2 separate regions of the Homo sapiens genome follow, and region 2 is linked to region 1. The links are contacts of gene promoters, found by promoter capture Hi-C in human tissues and cell types (Jung and others, 2019). All regions are on one chromosome and are shown on one strand. The core of a region is centred on a gene start or on the middle of the fragment in contact, and the rest is flanking DNA. Distances in the headings are between cores, read along the strand shown. Region 1 holds the start of RPS9 (ribosomal protein S9). Region 2 overlaps TMEM150B (transmembrane protein 150B).

Region 1 (6,462 bases), core at 1,959-4,458:
AGAACAGGAGAGTCAGCCACAGGCAAAACCTTTAAGTATGAAGACAATAGTTTTCAACAGCACAATAAACCTTACACCTTCAACAAAAGCATGTCCTACTGCTGAGGCTCCACTGGGCCAATGCACCAAGAGAATTTAAAATGCTTTAAAAATGCAAACCAGGGAGGACCTCAGTGGGAAACAGGTCCTTGTCATCATACAAGGCAGTTAGGTATTACAATGCCTTCATTTCTGATCTGAAAAATGGACATGACTCCTACATTTCTTCACAGTTGTGCTGGGGGGTGGGGGGGGAGTTCGTGTTGTTTTGTGTCTCGCTGTCACCCAGTGCAGTGCCGCGGATCTCGGCTCACTGCAGTCTCTGTCTCCCAGGTTCAATCAATTCTCCTGCCTCAGCCTCCCGAGTAGCTGGGATTATAGGCACACCACCATGCTCGGCTAATTTTTGTATTTTTCGTAGAGATGGAATTTCACCACGTTGGCCAGGCTGGTCTCTGACTTGAGGTCTCCTGACCTCAAGTGATCCGACCACCTCGGTCTCCCAAAGTGCTGGGATTACAGGCATGAGCCACCACGCCTGGCCTCTATCTGTTGATTATTAACTGCCAGCCAAATGTTGGCGGCTGTTCAGTCTTAACAGACGAGACTCAGAATCTCGCTAGTCACACATCTTAGTGGGAAAGGCAGGATCTGAATCAAGGCAGGATTACACCAAAGAGCAAACATCCAAGCTCCTCCTTCCTGTCCCTGACTAGGCTAGATGGCTTCATTTACTAGAAAGTGTACTCACCTGAACAACTGTGTACCCCTTGGGAATTTTCACTTCTGCCTTGGAAAACCACAAATAACCCTCAGACACCTGCACCGCTTTCTCACATGACTGTAAGTTTCATTGCAATTAGGATCTATGTCCAGAAAGTCCTCCCTAAAACCAGAACCAGCTATAGCCCACTCCCCACAGAACCCTGGGATGAATTCCCACCCAGCATCAGTATCTATGGGGGAGGGATCTCCAGCACTTTCATGAGATTATCAACGGGGTCTACAAATTGACGAAAAGAATGAAAGGGTCAGGTGCGGTGGCTTACACCTGTAACCCCAGCACTTTGGAAAGCTGAGGTGGATGGATCACTTGAGGTTAGGAGTTGGAAACCATCCTGGTCAACACTGCAAGATCCTGTGCCTATTTAAAGAAAAAGCTTCTAACATCTGCAAGCCTGGGACAAACTGTGATAATCTGTAGCTAAACATGCGCCAGGACTTTCTCAACGCCTAACATGGATGACCACTCTCATGCCTAACAGTCAGGGCTCAGGTGTAGAGACTGCTTTTCACCATAAATCATGACTACCCAAACTCAGGCAAAAGCAGCGTCTCAGGATATACAAATGCCAATCTTGGTCATGCCAATCTGCTGTAGAAAGCACTCCAATAACACCGCATCTCAGAGTAGATTTTAAAACAAGATGGTTAAGATGGTACATTTTCAATTTAATGTGTATTTCACCACAATTAGTAAAGTAAGCCTAAGTCTATGTGATCTGCATGCCCTCCTAAAGTCATCACCTGAAATGCTGTTCCCTGAGACATTTTACAGGTTCTCTCCTGTTCAGGCCTTTGCTAAATACCACCTAAATGTCCTTGACCAGCTTAAAAAAACAAGCACCAGCCTGGACAACATGGTGAAAACCCATCTCCACTAATAATAGAAAATTAGCCAGGCTTGGTGGCCCATGCCTGTGATTCCAGCTACTTAGGAGGCTAAGACAGGAGAATCGCTTGAACTCTGGAGGCGGAGTTTGCAGTGAGCCAAGATTGCGACAACTACACTCCAGCATGGGCAATGGAGCGAGACTCCGTCTCAAAAGTAAAATTAGCCAGGTGTGGTGGCGTGCGCCTGTCTGTAGTCCCAGCTACTTGGGAGGCTAAGATAGGAGAATTGTTTGAACCCAGGAGGCGGGGGTTGCAGTAAGCCGAAATGGCGCCACGGCACTCCAGCCTGGGCAACAGAGCAAGACTCCGTCTCAAAAGACTAAATAAAACGAGAAAACTTAATTAAAAAAACAATAAACCAAGCAAATGTGCAAACCCTGTTATCACCATCACTTAGCCCAGAAATTCCACTTCATAGTCTACTCTCATCCACTAGCAAACAGGCCACATAAACAGAATATAAAGATATAGACGGGTGCCCAGGTGTGCCAGGCCTATCTTTAGCTCTGGTCATTACTAAACTGAAGGTCCAATAACTGGGCAAAAAAGCCACACACCTAAGAAACAGGGCAAAGACTGATCCAGATACACTTTTCCTACTCCACAAGTGCCACTAAAAGTTAGAAGGCTGGTTCCATTTATCCAATGACACAACTCTCATCACTGGAACAGAGGCAACAGAAGGGAGAATGAACCTCACAAGCCCTGCACCCCATCCCTCTGCTGTGGACTCCCATACGCACCTTCGAACAGACGCCGTGGGTCCTTCTCATCAAGCGTCAGCAGTTCCCGGGCGGCCTTGCGGATCTTGGCCAGGGTAAATTTGACCCTCCAGACCTCACGTTTGTTCCGGAGCCCATACTCGCCTGGTGGGGAGAAGGGGGTGGACAAGTGTAGTCCCACGTACTGGCACAACAACTAGACTGGCAGCTTTGGAATCACAAAACCTTCCTAAACCACGAATAGTACCAAATTTAGGGGACGGACTAGATAGAGTACATGGGCACCTTCATCCACGTGCTAACCGCCTCCCGGAAGCCGAACCACTTCCCGGAAGCCTTGGCCACTCACCGATCAGCTTCAGCTCTTGGTCGAGACGAGATTTCTCGAAGGGTCTCCGCGGGGTCACATAAGTTTTGCGACAAACCCAGCTCCGGGCCACTGGCATGTTGGCTCCGCTTCCCCGTCTGCGCCTGCGCGGGAGAGAAGTGTGAGCGTAAGGGATCCAAACGGCGCCTGCGCAGTCCCACAACTACGCCAAAACCTCGCGGAGCCCAGATCCGATCTCGCGAGAATAACCTCCAACGCTCTCATAGTCAGTATCTGCCCCCACAACCGTGCTGCACTCCCGTTCAACCACCCTGCTCTGTTTCCTAACGTCTTTAGCTTACTCATGGAAACTCGGAAGGCCCGGGCCACCATCCAACCCAAACCCTAGAGAAAAAGCACACCACCGCACCTCACCTAAGCAAACCACCCGGTCACTGAGAAAGAGGCGCGGAAGCGCCACGGCTGCGCTCTTATAGTAACGCCGGCGTCTCGTGACGTTTTCACGCACCACGCACGTCAGAGCCAATCAGAAGAGGCGTTGGCTGGCTGAGAAGCAGTGGAGACGTGAGGCTGGGCTAGAGCGGCGTGCTAACCTGGGAGGACTAGGTTTTTTCCGGCCAGGGAGTGGAAACCTGAGAAGTAGGGAGAACCTTCCTTCTCCGCCCCTGGACGGTGGTTTTTCTTTTTCTTTCTGAGACAGGGTCTCGCTCCGTCGCCCAGGCTGGAGTGCAGTGGCGTGATTTCGGCTCACTGAGGCCCCGACCAACCTCTCGGGCTCGAGCGATCCTCCCACCTCCTCCCCAGTAGCTGGGATTACAGGCACACGCCACGACGCCCGGGTAGCATTTTTTTTTTTTAACAGTCGGCGTCTTGCCATGTTGCCCAGGCTGGTCTTGAACTCCCGGCCTCGAGAGAGCCTCCCGCCGTGGCCCCCCCAAAGTGCTGGGATTACAGGCGTGAGCCACCGCGCCCAGCCGAGATTATTTCTGTCACTAACAATAATGTGGCATTCTGGAACGCTATGTGCCACATACTGTTCTAAGAATTTTAAATGTATTTACTCAATCTTCAATACATACTTACAGAGCACTCTCAGAGAAGTTGCCCCCCCACCCATGGTACTATTATTATCAATAGCCACTTAAGGGGTATTAGTACTATTATCAGTAATTTATTTTATTTTTGAGACGGAGTTTTTCGCTCTCGTCACCCAGGCTGGAGTGCAGTGGTGCGATCTCGGCTCACTGCAACCTCCGCTTCCCGGGTTCAATCGATTCTCGTGCCTCAGCCTCCCGAGAAGCTGGGACTACAGGCGCCCACCACCATGCCCGGCTAATTTTTAAATTTTTAGTAGAGACGGGGTTTTGAACTCCTGGTCTCCAACGCCTGACCTCAAGTGATCCACCCGCCTCAGCCTCCCAAAGTGCTAAGATTACAGGTGTGAGCCACCGCGCCTGACCTAGAGTTCTCTTTTTATATATAGTCTGGTTATTGTCTGTCTGTACACCCATCTCTCCACTCCGAATGCGATGGTCTGTCTCCACAGCTCGTGTTCTTCAGTTGTCTTCCCTACGCTGCTGCCTCGGCAGTCACTATCTCCTCAGGAAGCAGTCCCACCCGCCCCTTTCTCTTCCACGGCATCCACACCATCCGGATGCCTGGATTCAAATGCCACGTCACCACTTGCCAGCTGCAGTGCCTTCGACAAGTTTCTCAATCACTCTGTGCCTCAGCGTCCTCCTCTGTAAAACGGCGAATGATGGTAGCGCCTACCTCATAAGCTTGTGAGGATTAAGTGAGAGTCTATCCAGTGTTGAGGAGAGTGGCATAAATAAAGCGCCTAGTGGTAGCTACCATCGTCATTATTGTCATCTGCATTGTACTTCCATATCTTACAAACTACCTTGTTCAGTTTTATGGGTTTTTTGTTTGTTTGTTTTGTTGTTTTGAGACGGGGTTTTGCCATATTGCCCAGGCTGGTCTTGAACTCCTGGGCTCAAGTGATCCACTCGCCTCAGCCTCCCCAAGTGCTGGGATTACAGGTGTAAGCCACCATGCCTGGCCAAATTTTATGCATTTTTGTATCTTGAACACGCGTATATTATTCATCTGGAAGGGGGAAACGTGGAAGGAAAAAACTTCCATAAGTTTTCACTCCCTTCAGGATGAAGTCCAAGCTCCACAAATTCCGGGTGCCTCGTGATTACAGAGATGGTTTTATAATGGTGGTTGAACCTGTAGGTTCTCAAGTCTTAAAAAAGATCTGCGTTTGAACCTCAGCAGTCACTGACGAGCTCTTGATCTTAGGCAAATTAGCCTCTTCAAGAGTGCTAAATGGGAGAAAGTAACAGGACTTTCCTCATAGGGTTTGATGATTTAGAGTAAAAAAAAAAAAAAAAGAAAAGAAAACCAGCACAGAGTCTTGTGTACTGAAGGTGCTTAATATCTTAACACAGCTGACTCTGTACAGTCTGGGGGCGAGGGGCACTGACCCCCAGCTCAGCCGAAAACCTCCATATAGGCTGGGCGCGGTGCCTCACGCCTGTAATCCCAGCACTATGTGGAAGGCCAAGGCCGGCGGATCAACTGAGGTCAGGAGTTCGAGACCAGCCTGGCCAACATGACAAAACCTGGTCTCTACTAAAAATACAAAAATTAGGCAGGCGTGGTGGCAGGTGCCTGTAATCCCAGCTACTTAGGAGGTTGAGGCAAGAGCATCACTTGAACCCAGGACGTGGAGATTGCAGTGAGCCGAGATCGCACCACTGCACTCCATCCTGGGCGACAGAGCAAGACTGCCTCAAAAAAAAAAAAAAAAATCAAGAAAGAAAATCTGCATATAACTTTTGACTTCCCCAAAACTTAACTACTAGGCCAGGCACCGTGGCTCACACCTGTAACCCCAGGTGGGATTTGGGAAGCTGAGGTGGGCAGAGCACTTGAGCCCAGGAGTTCAAGACCAGCCTGGGCAACACGGCAAAACCCAGACTCTACAGAAAACAGAAAAATTAACTGGGTGTGGTGGTGTGTGCCCGTAGTTCCAGCTACTTGGGAGGCTGTGGTGGGAGGACTGCTTGAGTCAAGGAGGTTGAGGCAGCAGCGAACTAAGATCATGCCCCTGCACCCCAGCCCAGCTGGCAGAGCAAGACACTGTCTCAGGATTTAAAAAAAACATTACTCGTAGTTGACTGGAAGCCTTACCAATAACATAGTCAATTAACACATATTTTATATGCTATATGTATTATATTCTGTATTCCTATGATGAATTAAGCTAGAGAAAAGAAAATATTGGCCGGGCGTGATGGCTCATGCCTGTTACCCCAGCACTTTGGGAGGCTAAGGCGGGCGGATCACCAGGTCAGGAGATCGAGACCATCCTGGCTAACACGGTGAAACCCCATCTCTACTAAAAATACAAAAAATTAGCCGGGCGTGGTGGCAGGCACCTGTAGTCCCAGCTACCGGGGAGGCTGAGGCAGGAGAATGGCGTGAACCCGGGAGGCGGAGCTTGCAGTGAGCTAAGATCGCGCCACTGCACTCCAGCTTGGGTGACAGAGCGAGACTTCGTCTCAAAAAAAAAAAAAAAGAAAATATTAAGAAAATTCTAAAAAAGAGAAAATATATTTACTATTCATTAAGTGGAAGTGGATCATCATAAAGGTCTTCATCCTTGTCTTCATTCTGAGTAGGCAGAGG
Region 2 (6,462 bases), core at 236-2,735, 1.1 Mb before region 1:
CAGGCGCAGTGGCTCATGCCTGTAATTCCAGCACTTTGGGAGGCGGAGGCAGGCGGATCGCCTGAGGTGAGGAGTTTGAGACCAGCCTGGCCAACCAACATGGTGAAACCCCGTCTCTCCTAAAATATACAAAAATTAGCCGGGCATGGTGGCAGGCGACTTAATCCCAGCTACGTGGGAGGCAGAGGCAGGAGAATCATTTGAACCTGGGAGGTGGAGGTTGCAGTGAGCCGAGATCGAGCCATTGCACTCAAACCTGGGGGATAAGAGTGAGACTTCTCTCAAAAAAAAAAAAAAAAAAAAAAAAAAAAAAGAAGAAGAAGATGAAATTACTGGCCGGGCTCTGTGGCTCACGGCTGTAATCCCAGCACTTTGGGAAGCCAAGGTAGGTGGATCACCTGAGGTCAGGAGTTGGAGACCAGCCTGGCCAACACGGTAAAACCCCATCTCTACTAAAAATACAAAAAATTAGCTAGGGGTGGTGGCAGGTGCCTGTAAGCCCAGCTACTCAGGAGACTGAGGCAGGAGAATTGCTTGAACCCGGGAGGCAGAGGTTGCATTGAGCCGAGACCATGCCATTGCACTCCAGCCTGGGCTGCAAGAGTGAGACTCAGTCTCAAAAAAGAAAAGAAAAGAAAAAAGAAATTAGTGAGGCTGGGCACAGTGGTTCATGCCTGTAATCCCAGGACTTTGGAGGCTGAGGCTTGAGCCCAGGAGTTCAAGACCAGCCTGGACAACATAGCAAGACTCTGTCTCTACAAAAAATAAAGAATTAGCCAGGCATGGTGGCGTGAACCTGTAGTCCCAGCTATGCAGGAGGCTGAGGTGGGAAGATGGAGGATTGCTTGAGCCCAGGAGGTCGAGGCTGCAGTGAGCTGTGATTGTGCCACTGCACTCCAGCCTGGTGAACAGAGTGAGACCTTGTCTCCAAAAAGAAATGACTGAGATTTACTCATTCTTCATGTTAGGCACATTGATTGAGCATTTGGCAGCCATTGGCAGCAGGCTTTCCATTTTGTACATGACTTCATTCCATCTCCATGAAGACTCTAGCTAGGTCACTCATTGCCCATGGACCACAGAGAATATATTTATATATATACATATATTGGAGATGGAGTCTTGCTCTGTCACCCAGGCTGGAGTGCAGTAGTGCGATCTTGGCTCACCGCAACCTCCGCCTGCTGGGTTCAAGCGATTCTCCTGCCTCAACCTACCAAATAGCTGAGACTACAGGCACCTGCCACCAGGCCTGGCTAAATTTTTTTTGTATTTTTAGTAGAGATGGGATTTCACCATATTGGCCAGGCTGGTCTTGAACTCCTGACCTCAAATGAGCCACCCACCTCAGCCTCCCAAAGTGCTCCACAACTATTTATTTATTTGAGACAGAGTCTTGCTCTGTGGCCCAGGCTGGAGTGCAGTGGTGAGATCTTGGCTTACTGCAACCTCCATCTCCCGGGCTCAAGTGATTCTCCTAACTTCAGCTTCCAGAGTAGCTGGGATTACAGGCGCTCACCACCACGCCCGGCTACTTTTTGCATTTTTAGTAGAGATAAGGTTTCACCATGTTGGCCACGCTGGTCTCAAACTCCTGACCTCAAGTGATCTGCCTACCTTGGCCTCCCTAAGTGTTGGGATTACAGGCATGAGCCACTGTGCCCAGCCCTCAACCTATTATTATTATCTTGCTCCTCTAAGGAGTATTTTTAGACATTTCCCCCTGGTTCTCCCCTCTTCCCATGAAATTTTAAGTATTTATTTTATTTATTTATTATTTGTTTATTTATTTTTGAGATGGGATCTTGCTCCGTTGCCCAGGCTGGTGTGCGATGGTGCCATCTCAGCTCACTACAACCTCTGCTTCCTGGGCTTAAGTAATCCTCCAGCCTCAGCCTCCTGAGTAGCTGGGATTACAGGCCTGAGCCACCATGACCGGCTAATATTTGTATTTTTTTTTTTCTTGAGATGGAGTCTCACTCTTGTTGCCCAGGCTGGAGTGCAATGGTGCGATCTTGGCTCACTGCAACCTCTGCCTCCTGGGTTCAAGTGATTCTCCTGCCTCAGCCTCCCAAGTAGCTGGGATTACAGGTGCCCGCCACCACGCCTAGCTAATTTTTTGTATTTTTAGTAGAGACAGGGTTTCACCATGTTGGCCAGGCTGGTCTCGAACTCCTGACCTCAAGTGATCTACCCGCCTTGGCCTCCCAAAGTGCTGAGATTACAGGTGTGAGCCACTATGCCTGGCAATATTTGTATTTTTTGTAGAGACGAGGTTTTGCCATGTTGCTCAGGTGGGTCTTGAACTCCTGAGCTCAAAGTGATCTGCCTGCTTCACCTTCCAAAGAGCTGGGATTACAGATGTGAGCCACCGCACCAGGCCAAAATTTTAAGTATTTTAAAATTTTAATGGAATATGTGCTATGTATCCGTGAGTCACATACAATTGTAATATTTAAGAATTTTTCACCTGCAAGACCAATTTTTGGGGAAATGTCTGTCCCCCGCCTTGAGAATGCAAGATTTATCCCACTCATATTTACTGAGCATCTACTATGTGCCCATCACTGTTCTAGGAATTGAGGCCACAGCAGTGAACAACAGATTTCAATGCCTGCTCTCGTGGAGCTGACAATAGCTGATGTGCTTAATAAGCCCATCACTGGGTATGGAAAGTTGGTGACCACTGTCTACTGCATTGGTGAAGGGCCCTGGCCCCTCTGGTGCCCCTTACCCTCCTTCCCAGAGTCTCCCTCCCAACTTCTCCCTTCTCCTCCCAGGAAAAGAACCAGCGGCCTACGCACTTGGCAGGGGCCTTCCTTGCCTTCATCTTGGGTAACGTCTACTTCTGGCTGCAGCTCCTCCTGTGGAGGCTGAAGAGGCTGCCCCAGCCCGGGGCTGCCTGGATTGGGCCCCTCCGCCTGGGCCTCTGCAGCGTCTGCACCATCCTCATTGTGGCCAGTATCCTTCTTGTATCCGGGGTAGGGCTTGGAGGTGGCTCTTCACTGGAGTTGGTCTTCCTGCCTGGCTGTCTGTCACTGGGGATGTCTCTTCCTTTCTCTGGGCCTCACTCTTTGCACAGGATTATGGCTTTGTCATCGAGAATGCCGACTTCGGGGTCAGGTTGCCCAGGTTGGAAGCCCCTGTCCTCCACACAGCAGCTGGGGGAAACTTCCGCGGGCTGTTACTTCTCGGTGTCAATGGTTTCGTCATCCCTCAAATGTGGATAACGACAGGGCTGACCTCAGGGTTGTGGAGTGGATAGGATAATAGGCATACGGTGCTTAGATCTGTGCCTGGCACATAGCGAGTGACCAATAGACGCTGGAAGAATGATATACTAAGAACAGTCCCTTGAGGGCACCTGCTCTGTGCCAGGAATCATGTGGTTACGAGTGAAGACGGGTTCAGACAGGAAAAGTCTTTCGGCCAGGATGCGCGTGAGGTTCTGCAATGGAGCTGGTGATAGGCTGCAGGTGGCTTGCGCAGGCTCTGAGAGGCATTCTGTGAACTGCTCGTCCGAACTCCATGTCCTGTGATATCATGTGAGTAGCTTGAAATAGCCATCATGGGAGTATTTATACCACTGTAATTGGCAGATGCCACCAACCAGAGCCAGTTGTTAAACATTTACTAGCACACCACATGAGGCTTGACTCAATTCCAACTCATTTCTGAGCCATCCCCAGAACCGAGGCACTTTCCACCAGCACAGTGTACTTCTAGATGGGTCAGGTCACTCTCTGAGGCCTCAGTTTCCATATCCATAAAATGGATTTGCTTTTATCATCATGATTATTTTTATTTATTTATTTTTGAGACAGAGTCTTGCTCTGTCGCCCAGGCTGGAGTGCAGTGGCGTGATCTCAGCTCACTGCAACCTCCGCCTCCCGGGTTCAAGCGATTCTCCTGCCTCAGCCTTCCACGTAGCTGGGACTACAGGCACCTGCCAACCACACCTGGCTAATTTTTTTTTTTTTTTTTTTGAGACGGAGTCTCGCTCTGTCACCTAGGCTGGAGTGAAGTGGCGTGATCTTGGCTCACTGTAAGCTCCGCCTCCCAGGTTCATGCCATTCTCCTGCCTCAGCCTCCTGAGTAGCTGGGACTACAGGCGCCAGCCACCATGCCCAACTAATTTTTTGTATTTTTAGTAGGGACAGGGTTTCACCATGTTAGCCAGGATGGTCTTGATCTCTTGACCTTGTGATGCGCCCACTTTGGCCTCCCAAAGTGCTGGGATTACAGGTGTGAGCCACCGTGCCTGGCCTTTTGTATTTTTAGTAGAGACGGGGTTTCATCATATTGGCCAGGCTGGTCTCGAACTCCTGACCTCATGATCCACCTGCCTTGGCCTCCCAAAGTTCTGGGATTGCAGGCATGAGCCACCATGCCCGGCCTATTATTATTATTATCTTGTTATTATTATTTTTTGAGATGGAGTCTCACTCTGTCACCCAGGGTGGAGTGCAGTGGCATGATCTTGGCTCACTGCAACCCCCACCTCCCAGTTTCAAGCAATTCTTGTGCCTCAGCCTCCCAAGTAGCTGGGACTACAGGCATGCACCACCACACCTGGCTAATTTTTGTGTTTTTAGTAGAGATGGGGTTTCACCATGCTGGGCAGGCTGGTCTCGAACTCCTGACCTCAGGTGATCTGCCCGCCTCGGCCTCCCAAAGTGCTGGGATTACAGGTGTGGGCCACTGTGCCCAGCCTACAGTGATTAATTCTGATAGGTAGAGTGTAGAGTGAGAGAAAGGAGGGGCTGAAAACCCAGCCTTGGGGGGTCTTTCTCATTTGTGGGGAGGCCCAGAGTGTGCAGGCATTCAGAAGAGAGTACAGAGAAACCAGCTAAGGCCCTGTGTTGGTTGTATTAAGTGCATCCGTTTCTTGGAAATTTTCTCAGCAAAATGGAAATGGTGATCGTATTTCCTGGAGTGACAAAGTGTATCTTCACAAAATAGTTGAGAGGGCTGGCCCCTCAGCCCGGCCTATAGTGACTTGGGGTATGAGACCATTAGGTCTCCTTTGCAGGGGCCCTGATGGTGATAAGATCCAGCCCAGATCTTCTAAACTAGCCCTGATGATCAGTTTAGCCACAGGGGCCTTCATTCTGTGGGACTCAGTAGTCTCTTGGGTGGGGTAGGTGGGGGAGGGAACCATAAAGACAGCTAGCTGAGTGTCGTAAGGGATGGACGTCTGTAAAGACGGGCCTGAGCCTGGCCGGATTCTGAGCCTGGCCTTGCAGAAGGAGCTGCTCGTGGGCTGGGAGGTTGAGGGCACACTGCAGGTACACGCACCGAGCAGAAAGACCAGCCCAGGGAGGAGTGAGGCTGCTGGCAGGGCCAGGGCTGAGGATTCTCTAAAATTAGGGATCAGAGGCTTGGGTTTCTGCCTGGGGGTGATAGAGAGCCATAGGAAGTTTACGGTCAGGCATTGTGGCTCATGCCCATAATCCCAGCGCTTTGGGAGACTAAGGCGGGCGGATGACATGAGATCAGGAGTTCAAGACCTGTCTGGCCAACACGGTGAAACTCTATCTCTACTAAAAATACAAAAATTAGCCAGGTGTGGTGGCACACGCCTGTAGTCCCAGCTGCTCAGGAGGCTGAGGCACAAGAATCGCTTGAACCTGGGAGGCAGAGGTTGCAGTGAGCCGAGATCACGCCACTGCATTCCAGCCTGGGACACAGAGTGAGACTCTGTTTCAAAAAAAAGACCAGGTCTCGCTCTGTTGCCCAGACTGGTCTCGAACTCCTAGCCTCAGGCAATCCTCCCACCTTGGCCTCCCAAAGTGCTGGGATTGTAGGCGTGAGCCACCACTTCTCAGCCCCCTTAGAAATCCCTGAATGAATGGAATAAGCTGTCTGGGAGGGGTGAAGTGGTGAGCAGCTCCAGTGAGAGAAGTTCCAGAAAACAAATGCTGTCTCTACTAGGCCTGGAGTCTGCAGGGGCTGGCAGAGCAGAAAAAGGTCTTAAGGAGCTAGCAGGGTGCGAGAACCAGAGGAGGGACGGGACAGACCAGGAGAGAAAGGCACAAGACATGAGGAGAGGGCTGGAGAGAGATGGGTAAGGCAGATAGGACAAGACTTGGGGTGACCAGCTGGCCAAGAAGGATGAAGAGAGGGCCGGGGGAGTGTCTGCTGGGGCACATGAGTGGATGGTGGAGTTGTCGTGGAGGAGGGGACACTCAGAGAAACAGATTTTACAGGGAAGAGATTAGGCTCTGGGAGTGAGCAGGAAGGGCCTGTAGGCCATGGGTAGCGGGGTGGATGTTCAGGAGAAAGTTGCAAAACACAGTCCGAGGCTGGCGGCAGGGAGGGAGGCGTATTTAGGAAACCATGCATGTTTACAGGCAGGAGCAATGGCAGCTGGATGTCCTGGACAAGTAGGGAGGCAACCAGGCCCTTCCCTGGGTCAGGGAAGGGAGACAGAAACATTTCAGGATATTAGGATTGCAATAG

What was found. The method cuts DNA at HindIII sites, captures the fragments that hold promoters and counts their contacts. A contact is called where the count stands out against the background at its distance.
Region 2: a contact is called between a fragment that was not itself captured here and the fragment with the promoter of RPS9 in region 1, in 1 of the 25 tissues and cell types used here (dorsolateral prefrontal cortex).

Annotation. Positions count from the first base shown.
Region 1 is chr19:54,197,604-54,204,065 of GRCh38, reverse strand. RPS9 (ribosomal protein S9) reads right to left here and starts at 3,208. Exons shown (of 5, transcript NM_001013.4): 1 at 3,178-3,208; 2 at 2,785-2,906; 3 at 2,457-2,579. The coding sequence starts at 2,881. RefSeq lists a silencer at 2,895-3,388 and an enhancer at 3,151-3,820. The HindIII fragment of the contact is 8,370 bases long and covers 95-6,462 here.
Region 2 is chr19:55,313,285-55,319,746 of GRCh38, reverse strand. It overlaps TMEM150B (transmembrane protein 150B), which reads left to right. Exons shown (of 8, transcript NM_001282011.2): 7 at 2,781-2,961. Among named protein-coding and RNA genes, the nearest start is that of TMEM150B, 8.8 kb to the left of the region's middle. RefSeq lists an enhancer at 6,203-6,462. The HindIII fragment of the contact is 7,983 bases long and covers 1-5,476 here.